3 separate regions of the Homo sapiens genome follow, and regions 2 and 3 are each linked to region 1. Evidence: promoter capture Hi-C in 16 types of primary human blood cells and fetal thymus (Javierre and others, 2016). All regions are on one chromosome and are shown on one strand. The core of a region is centred on a gene start or on the middle of the fragment in contact, and the rest is flanking DNA. Distances in the headings are between cores, read along the strand shown. Region 1 holds the start of LDLRAD3 (low density lipoprotein receptor class A domain containing 3). Region 2 has its middle 94 kb from the start of LDLRAD3. Region 3 has its middle 120 kb from the start of LDLRAD3.

Region 1 (3,145 bases), core at 595-3,094:
TTTACATTAGTCCAAATGATTTCAAAGACATTAATATATTTATATTTAAAAGTGTGTGTGCCTGTGTGTATGTGAGAGAGAGAGAACGAGAGAGAGAGTCAGAGTCAAACTTGCAAAGTAAGGAAGTTGATGTGTCCAAAGAAACCTAAGGAAATAAGAACTATAGCAGTGGGTCAGTTGCATTATCTTTCCGTATCCCTAATGTTTGGAGGCAAATGAGCAGCTGTAGGAGAAATTATTTGCTTATTTGCCTCCTCAGATATTATTATCAAAGGCAGGAGGCCTCTTCCCAACAAGCTTCCCGGAACAATGCACATACCCACATGCACAGGACATTTTGCATAAAATTTTAAGGGCTTTAAAATTCTTTGAAGCCCATGGGACGATCTCCATAATATTCATCAATCCCAGGATAAAAGCCCCGAATGCCAAATCATTTAGATAATTGATTTATATTTTCCATGTGTACTATGAACTATGGAACTTAACCTTTCCTCCCTCACATCACATTTTCTCATTACCTTGAACAATCATTGGTATTTTTAAATTTTGACCTGATCCTTTTTAGCCTTTATGTTTCCAGACTACAGCACGCAATTACAGAGTAAAGTAATTGAATCTTAACACCCTTGAGGGTGTCTCCAGGGCATCCCAAAATCTGACGCAGGCATCCCTTTTATAACTGCCCCTGTACCCATACCTTCCCCTTTCTTTCAGCCAGGTGGAGTTTGTGTAAATAAACTCAACCCTTTTGAGGGGTGGATTTTAGGGATGCAGTTCTATTGTTTTGACAAATGTATACAGTTGTGTAACTACCTCTATAATCAAGATTAGAACAGTCCCACTGCCCCCAAAAGTTTTAATTTATTGATCCATTTATCAATTGATGGACACTTGAGTTGTTTCCAGTTTTTGGCAATTATTTGCGTTAGTCTTTTGCTTTTTTTGGGTGGGGGATCAGAGAGAGTGGAGCACAGAAGTGTCATCCCCTTCTTCCACCATCTAAGTCTTTTGGGGCTTTTCACCAGTGCCCTCTGGAAGCAAGTGCATTGGTGCAGCTATATTTTTTGCATTTGGGTATCTGCCTTTCATGACCTTTTCCTTTTTTTAATTTTATTTTTTCCAAATTGGGTCCCAAACGTTCAACAGGTCAAGGTGGACACTATGCAGACAAAATAACTCATGTGGTCCACGCTGTGTGCATGGTAGGTGTCAGCTGCTCTTACCGGTGGCTCCCGGATCATCAGCCTTGGAATCAGCCACCATGTTGTTAAAAATGCAGAATCTCAGGCTCCACGCCAGATCTACTGAACCAGAGTCAGTATTTTAACAAGATCGTCAAGTGTGCCGGATGCATATTAAAGTTTGAGAAGCACTGGTATTCCACACTCGCTACTAAAAATATACTACAATTTTCTCATAAGATTTGACCCTTTATTTTAACTTTTTCTCTCTCGGTAGTAAACTCACTTTGTAGTTTGAGTAAAGAACTCAAGTTTTGGTCTGGGCGCTGCATCTCGCTGGGTGTGGAAGCAAAGGCAGAAATGAGAGGGACAAAAGGAAGCAGAGAACAGAGCCCAGGCTGTTAGAAGATCCTCGCGGCCAGACCTGGGAGGCTGAAAGGCTGAGAGACCGAAAGGCTGAACCCTCCGCCGCGCTCGGCGGCCCCTCGGAGTCAGGACACCCAGGGTAACATGCGGGTGGCCACGCGCAGCCCAGGCGCTTGCAAAACTTAGCGGAGCCGGGCCGGGGCCGGGCCCGGGGAAGGCGGGAGGGAGGAGGGCCAGGCGGGAGGGCGGGGACGGCGCGGCGAGGGGCGGGGTCAGCGCCGAGGCCGCGGGGGCAGCAACGACGCCGGGCAGCGGGAGCGGCGGCCGCGCCATGTGGCTGCTGGGGCCGCTGTGCCTGCTGCTGAGCAGCGCCGCGGGTGAGTCGGGGGGCGGCCGGCGAACTTCCCGCGGGGCGCGGGGCGCGGGGCGCGGGGCGCAGCGGCCGGGTGCGATCGCGTCCTCTCCCGGGCGCGGGCCGCTCTCCGGGCGTGGGTGAGCGCGGAGGGCGGACCCCGGCGCCGGGCTGGCCCGGACCCTGCCGAGGGGCCGCCGCGGGGTGCGAGCCGTCCTATTGTGTGGGCGTGCGCGCCGGGTCGTGTTGTGCTGTGTGCGCGGGCGGGGCTCTGTGTGCAGTCCGGGTCTGGGGAGCCCGGCGGCTGCCCCGATTGGGCGTAGCTCGAGTGTGGCTGTGTGTGTGTTGTGTGTGTTGAGGAACGGAGGCGGGGAAAGGAAAGGAGAGGAGAGGAGAGAACTCTTCCCTGGTCTCATCTTCCCAGACGCCTGGTCGCGCGCGGCTGCGTTAGCCTCCTCTGGGCCTCTTCCCGAGTCTCTGGCGTGCACTCCGTGCCTCAGTTTCCCCACCTGCACCGCGGAGGGAGTAGCAAAGCTGCTTCCTTTCATTCCTCTCTGGGACTGTTTGGTTTGGGTAAAGTGAGTTGAAGCAAGGCCGGATCTGGGAATTCATTTTTCCCCACTGATCCTGGGAACCGAAGCTTTATTTAAGACGTCTGACCACCCTACTTGCCCCGCGATGGGCGCCCTGACCGGCGAGGGGCCCTGGGAGAGGACACGGGGCTTCATCCGGCGGCCCTTTGAACCTGGCATCACCACCGCGTGTGCATCCCGGGGCCTGGACCGCAGCAAGCCTCTTTCCCTTCCAGACAGCGTGCTGTTCCCAGGAACTTTTCTGCTGATGTGGGCATGATCCGAATTCCAGCCTGGGAGCCCTTCCTCCTCTGCCCCTGCCCGCCGCCCACAGCTGTCAGCTGTCCCTCCTGGACTGGGCCCGCCCTTGGCCCCTTGACGTTTATTTCTGGGCATCTGATGCCTAGAATGTGGGTGACAGGGCCCAGTGAACTTTCTTCAGCAGAATCTTGCCTGCCTGGTGTTTGTGCCATCCACATGTCCAATAGCTGCCCTATTTTGCCAAGTGCTTCTAGCAGCTTGGCTGTCGAGGTGTCTTTGGTGGCCTGTGGGTTTGCTAAGTTGAGGCTCACTTCATTCTTAGCTGTGCCTTGGAGTTATGAATGCGTTAAAGGGATATCTCCTCTCTTCCTTGATGTCCCTGGTCCTGGGCATCCTCACAGCCCACTGGG
Region 2 (3,393 bases), core at 30-2,529, 94 kb before region 1:
ACTAAGAAAAAATCATTGGCAGCTAGTTCACTGACTTAGTATTCTGAAAGATGATAAAGAAAAAGACAGGTATATGTATTATGTCTTTTCTGTAATAATTATTTCAGGGTTACAAATAGTTGGTAAGGGAAAATTCTTCTCTGTAGAAAAATTCTACCTAATAAATGCAGAAGGAATGATAGATTTGGAAAATCAGCATTTTGCAAACCTGAATGAGATAATGGACCAGGCAATGATCAATAAAAACTAACACCATTAGATAAAAGCTTAATGGAGAACTTGATAATGGCAAGAGGAAGCTAACATCTCTGAACCCACAGATCATTCTCAACATTACAGAAAGTGGGAGAAGCAGATAGTCTGTTTCTGCAAAGTGATGCAAGAGAAGACACCACCCGTGAATCTAATCAAGCCAAAATCTAACCATCAGTTTGCAGGAAATTCGGGAGACAGAGGATCAAGTTCAGCAACAACTCAGTGATGCCAACAGCCAAATCCAGAATGTGAGAAGTTCTTTAAGGGGACAAATGACTCCGTTTTGTCAACACATGAATGTGATGCATGAACTTTGTTTAGCTCCTGATTATAACAGACCAACTGTTAAAAGATATTTTTGAAGCAATGGGGACATTTGAGAATAGACTACTATGAGACGTTTTTAGGGAATTTCTGTTAATTTTATTGGGTATTGGCATTATTGTCATTCTTTAACAGTTCTTATTTATTGTAGATGCATACTAAGCTAATTTTGGGTGAAACAATATGGTTTCTAGGATTTGCCTTAAAATACTCCAGAAAAAAAATCAGAGAGAGATGAAACAAGAATGGAAAAATATTGGTAATTGTTGGAGTTGGGTGATGGGTACCCTTCTCCCTACTTTCTTGTGTATGCCCTGGTTCTTCTACTTTTGCTCCTAGGTCCATTCTCTGCCCTTCTGTGTCTTGCTCTGAGGTCTGGGAAGCCACCTTTATTGATAGAAACACCCAGACAACTTTGTTGGCTGGTTTCTGGTGAGTTGAGCTAATAGTGGTCACCAGAAGTAGATCAGGAGTGGGAGAAGGAACAGTCAGGGGATTTATCCTCCATGTACCCTCTCTGCCTTCCTGTGGTCTGACAGTAGCTTTGCTCCACTATAGCAGTTATATTAGCTTGCTGGGGCTGCCATAACAAAGTAGCACAGTGTGGCTTAAACAACATAAATTTATTTCTCACAATTCTGGAGACTAGAAATCCAAGATACAGGCATGAGCAGGGTTGTTATCTTCTAAGGCCTCTCTCATTGATTTACACATGCCATCTTCTCCCTGCATCTTCACATGGTCCTCCCTTTGTGCATGTCTGTGCCCTAATCTCTTCTTATTAGGACGCTAGTGGCTCATGCCTATAATCCCAGCACTTTGAGAGGCTGAGGCAGGCGGATTGCTTGAGCCCAGGAGTTCGAGACACCCATGGGCAACACGGTGAAACCCCATCTCTACCAAAAAATAAACAAATAAACAAAATTAGCCAGGCATGGAGGCACACACCTGTAGTTCCAGCTATCCAGGAGGCTGAGGTGGGAGGATTTCTTGAGCCTGGGAGGTCATGGCTGCAGTGAGCTGAGATTGCACCACTGCACTCCAGCCTGGGCAACAGACCAAGACCTTGTCTCAAAACAACAAAAACAAGAAAAATCAAAAAACTGGACACCAGTAATATTTGATTAGGGCTCACCTTAATGGCTTCATTGTAATTTTATTACTTCTTTAAAGACCCAATCTTCAATTACAGTCACATTCTGAGGTACTGGCATTAGGACTTCAATGTATGGATTTTGGGGGTTACACTGCCCGTAACAGCAGTGATCAGCAGACTTTTTCTGGCAAAGCATAAGACAGCAAATATTTTAGGCTTTGTGGGCAATACAGTCTGTCACCAGGGCTCAGATCTGCCGTTGTAGCACAAAGCAGCTATAGAGAATATGTAAATGAATGGACATAGCTGTCTTCCAGTAAAACTTTATCTGTAAAACAGGTGGCAGACTCCCGGGCCATAGTTCGCCGGCCCCTGCTTCCGGTGGTTAGTGCCTTTTCCATGTGTTCATTTCTCCCTGGTCTCTGCCCCTGCAGCAGAGGTGGTAATAGCTTCCCACTATTGCTAATCCTTGGGTGTGACACTTTCCCTTTTTGGTTCCATTAACCCTGATGACGCCTTCTTTGGCCCCTTCATTCAGTTCTCCTTGGGTAAACGCTTTTTGAGTGTATCCTCTCTTTCTAGTTTGGACACTGTCTGATATTTTATATTCGAAATTCTAAGCTTGAAATTGCCCATAAAAGAATCATAATGGCCGGGCGCAGTGGCTCACGCCTGTAATCCCAGCACTTTAGGAGGCCAAGGTGGACATATCACGAGGTCAGGAAATCAAAGCCATCCTGGCTAACACGGTGAAACCCCGTCTCTACTAAAAAGATACAAAAAAATTAGCCGGGCGTGGTGGCGGGCACCTGTAGTCCCAGCTACTCGCGAGGCTGAGGCAGGAGAATGGCGTGAACCCGGGAGGCGGAGCTTGCAGTGAGCCAAGATCACACCACTGCACTCCAGCTTGGGTGACAGAGCGAGACTCCGTCTCAAAAAAAAAAAAAAAAAAAAAAGAATCATAATGAGGCCAGGCGCGGTGGCTCATACCTGTAATCTCAGCACTTTGGGAGGCCGAGGAGGGCAGATCACTTGAGGCCAGGAGTTCGAGACCAGCCTGGCCAACATGGCAAAACCCCATCTCTACTAAAAATACAAAAAATTAGCTGGGCATGGTGGCCATGCCTGTAATGCCAGCTACTCAGGAGGCTGAGGCATGAGAATCGCTTGAACCCAGGAGACAGAGGTTGCAGTGAGCCAAGATCGTGCCACTCTACTCCAACCTGGGCAACAGAGTGAGACTTTGTCTGTCTCAAATAATAATAATAATAATAATAATAATAATAATAATAATAATAATAATGAAAGGAAAGGAAAGGACCGATTTAGAAGGTAAACTGGATATGAGTTGCCTCTTGTCTCTGAAGAGTGCCCCAACCATGGAGGGGCTAAGAGGGAGAAGACAACAGGTGCTCATAGGTGAGAATCAAGAGGGAGCTTGGGCAGGGAATATGTCTAGGACCTGATCAAGCCAAGAGAGGGACCAGACCACATGGGATGCCAGCCACAGGCTTCAGTGGCCCCCACCTGGGGGCCAGCTTGGACCACGCCACCTCCGCAGGCCCAGGGCAAGAAGCAGCCCAGACCAGCGACTCTGCAGCTAGCCAGCAAGGATCCGAAGGCCACCACCTCCCTCTGCCACCACACATGCAGGCCCCAGTCCTTCTCCACACACCCGGGCACCATCTCATGGAGGGGCAGGAGGGAAAATATGAGGG
Region 3 (3,520 bases), core at 390-2,889, 120 kb before region 1:
AGGAGTTCTTGGAAGTGCAGTTTTGTCCATCTCATTAGTGAGGTTTTTGCAGCACTGCAACCCCCTCCCCCAACAAACTGGTCATATGTTGTGTGTGTGGTGATCAGGCTGGTGATTTAGTGAGGAGCCCACTCCTCATCTAGAAAGTATGCGTGACACCCAGATCACAACACTCCCCATGTGGTCACCGGCTGTCTCGTACAGAGTTCATGAACTTCCAAGTAAGAAGAGACACAAGAGTGGTATTTTCTTAGGAGATTATTAGACCCACCAGAAGGTAACAAGAGCATTTAGCAATGATAAAGAATAAATATCCCCACTTACTGGGGCAGCTCTCTTTCCTGTCTCTTCCTCATCCCTTTCCTCAGCTTCCTCCTACTCCTCTCCCAGAAATAAAGGAGCTTCATCTAGAAGAGCTCATGGACAACAAACATGCCTGGAAAAAGCTATTGCCTGATTGGCTCCCAGTTTTCATTGTGATGTTTCACACCTATCAAGTGACTTTGTTTTTAGAAATGCACAACCAAAGTATGGCCTTGAATTGGATCAACCCACCATCTCACTTCACAATACTCAGCCTAACATGACAAAACCACCAAGACAACCAGTTAATTTAACTGGAAAAAAAATCAGTTCAGCCAGTTGTTTGGCAGAGGTTAAGTAGAACTGTGTTGATTGAATTATGCATTTTAAAAGGAGGTTGCATAGGTACAGCTGAAGTGAAATCCTTTTGTGACCTTGAACTTGGATTTTTATATCAACATCAAAGATTTATTAATGAAGGCTCAAGATTTCCAATAAAAACTTTTCCAATTAAATGTTTCCAGTTGTCTTCCTTTCCCAGGTGAAGTGGCCAACTTCACTAAGCCCAGTGGCTGCCTTTTGCCCAAGCTCTCTATTCTTGAAATAGAGGTAAGTTGTCTTTGAGTGAATAATGGGAGGCATTCTAGATCAGAATGCCTGGGTCTGGCATTTACTAAGTCATTTTAAACCAGTAACTTATATGCCCTTTGCCTCCATTTCCTCATCTCCAAAATAGAACTTGCCACACTGGGTTGATAAGAGGATCAAATAAGATAATGGGTGAAAAGTGCTTAAAACCGTACCTGGCAAATAGTAAGTTATCAAGAAATGAAATAGTTATCAATATTAGCATCATTATCATAACTTGATTGGTGTAGTAATAAAACAGGTTATTGGATAGGAAATTTGGTGGTATCCAACCCCATTTTTAGAAATCTTCCTGAAAGAAATATGACATAGGTACAAAGCTTTTTGCATAAGAATGATCATGTAGCATTGCTTTTAAGGGCAAAAAATGTGGTAATGACGTCAGTATTCATTAATAGGGGACGGGCTAAGTGTCTGAGGATCTGTCCTTGTAGAAGAACACTCTCCAGAAAATCAAGGTTAGGTTTGTCTCTGCTGACTCAGCCCAGCAAACAGTGCTTCCGAAAATCACTGAGGCCTCCAAGTTCAGATTGGCAATCACAACTTTCCTTCCTGCAATCACAGAACATTCTCTGGGAAGCTAATCAGGATGACTTATCTTTAACTGGGAAGAGTGGATTTGTGTCACTCCAGCCAAACTCTGAAGAGGCACAAGCCCTAATGAGGAAGAGATCAAGGAACATTGTTGAACGATACCCTGGTTCTCAGTATAATCCCATCTCACGACTGTGACCTTCAAGTCATAGGGCCAGTAGAGTAGGTCAAATGAGTTAAAACCCTAACTTTTGGACTTTGATAACCTTCCTTAGAGCTCTCTACTGTGAGAAGAAAAGGTCATCTGCTAGGCCATGTTCAAGCAAAGAAAAGTGGGATTTTTCCCATCTCTCATGATTCCCCAATCCCAATCCTTTAGGGTTTACCTATTCATGTTAACCAAAAACACTGAGTTGGAAGTGGAGCCAAGCCCCTTACCACTTTACCACTCCCTAACCTCATTCCTGTTATGTCTGATTTCTACCAAACAGGAGCATTAACCGAGATCCCTTTCCCCAAAACAAAAGCTTTGCCCATTTGAGGCTCTTGTTTTGTTTGGGCCCTTCTTGCTATCCTTCTCTTGTTCTGTGCTTCGTTTTCTCTGGGCCCCATTCATTCCAGTTTCACGAGAGAAGAGGAGAAAGTACAGACCACAAGAAGGAAAAGCATTGTAATTCTGGTTGCTTTTTTACCCACAGTCGACGACTCCTATTGTAGCAGCCGCATCACGTGTATCATTGAGCGCTCCATCGTGCCCTTGACCCTTCCTAGTCCCGGCTCCTTGTCTTGGAGCAACAAAATGAAAAAGCTGAAGGCCAGGCGTGGTGGCTCACGCCTCTAATTCCAACACTTTGGGAGGCTGAGGTGGGTGAATCACTTGAGGCCAGGGGTTGGAGACCAGCCTGGCCAACATGGTGAAACCCCGTCTGTACTAAAAATACAAAAATTAGCTGGGCATGGTGGTTTATGCCTGTAATCCCAGCTACTCGGTAGGTGGAGGCATGAGAATCGCGTGAACCCGGGAGGCGGAGGTTGCAGTGAGCTGAGATCGCGCCACTGCCCCCTCCAGCCTTGGGGACAGAGTGAGACTCTGTCTCAAAAAAAAAAAAAAAAAAAGCTGAGGCGAACGCCTCTGCGCCCCCTAGAGGTTGGAGAGTGCAACCAACAATGAGTGTGAACACATGGAAAAGCTCAGTGCCAGCCTCCAAGCTGTTAGCAATGAAGAGGGAGCTTGTGGGGCAGGCTGATCCAAGTCCCAACCGCCCTGAAGGGAGATTATAATCCCCAGTTCCTCCTCAAGAACTTCTCCATTGTAAGGCAAATCCCACTTTTCTTCTTGCTCCCATATTGGCACCTAGATATCAAGGGAGGCAAAACCAAATCCTTGGCGTCTCAGCTCTGCTTTTGTAAACCAATTTCCCCACTAATAAGAATCGGAGATTGTGTTTCCCCGTGCAGTGCCAGACCAGGCCAGCAGGGGTCTAACATTAGTTGCTTTTAACCTACAATGACTGGCTCTCCACCGTAGTGGCTGAGTGAGTGAACTTGAAGTGAAGAGCTAATAGCCATGACTGGAGAAAACAGGTATAAATAGTGCATCCATTTTTGTAGTAAGACTAAAAACAGTCCAACCCACAGGATATCGATTTTCCTTATCCACAATGAAGTGCTTGGTTTAATACACTTTTCCTGTTTACTCTGAAAATGCATTCATAAAGAGAGCTATCTTAATCCAGGATCTTGGACCATCCAGATTTCTGTCTGAAACAGTTCACTAATTGCTGTTTGGTCTCTAAAGAGGATGCCATGAGGACTAAAGATTATATAATAAAAAAGACAATGTCTCAAAAAGCAAATGTCTCCAACTTATAGATGTCATAGTTTTAAAAACAAACAAAAAAACACATGAGTTTAGTATTTCTGGATCATTCTTAAGGTTGGTATTTGAAACTGTAAGCTCAAATCTTTACATTGTCCTTGAATATATTTTCACTGTGGCTATTAATTACAACAATGATTAAATACCTAAAAAACT

Evidence for each region. Contacts are between HindIII fragments. The CHiCAGO score rates a contact against its expected background, and 5 or more counts as called.
Region 2: a fragment that was not itself captured here is called in contact with the fragment with the promoter of LDLRAD3 in region 1 in 1 of 17 cell types (endothelial precursors); the score reaches 6.6 in endothelial precursors.
Region 3: a fragment that was not itself captured here is called in contact with the fragment with the promoter of LDLRAD3 in region 1 in 2 of 17 cell types (endothelial precursors and erythroblasts); the score reaches 6.7 in endothelial precursors.

Annotation. Positions count from the first base shown.
Region 1 is chr11:35,942,218-35,945,362 of GRCh38, forward strand. It overlaps LDLRAD3 (low density lipoprotein receptor class A domain containing 3), which reads left to right and starts at 1,845. Exons shown (of 6, transcript NM_174902.4): 1 at 1,845-1,927. The coding sequence starts at 1,882. RefSeq lists a silencer at 1,756-2,195. The HindIII fragment of the contact is 2,245 bases long and covers 296-2,540 here.
Region 2 is chr11:35,848,349-35,851,741 of GRCh38, forward strand. No RefSeq gene overlaps it. Among named protein-coding and RNA genes, the nearest start is that of LDLRAD3, 94 kb to the right of the region's middle. The HindIII fragment of the contact is 2,030 bases long and covers 265-2,294 here.
Region 3 is chr11:35,819,338-35,822,857 of GRCh38, forward strand. No RefSeq gene overlaps it. Among named protein-coding and RNA genes, the nearest start is that of LDLRAD3, 120 kb to the right of the region's middle. The HindIII fragment of the contact is 741 bases long and covers 1,270-2,010 here.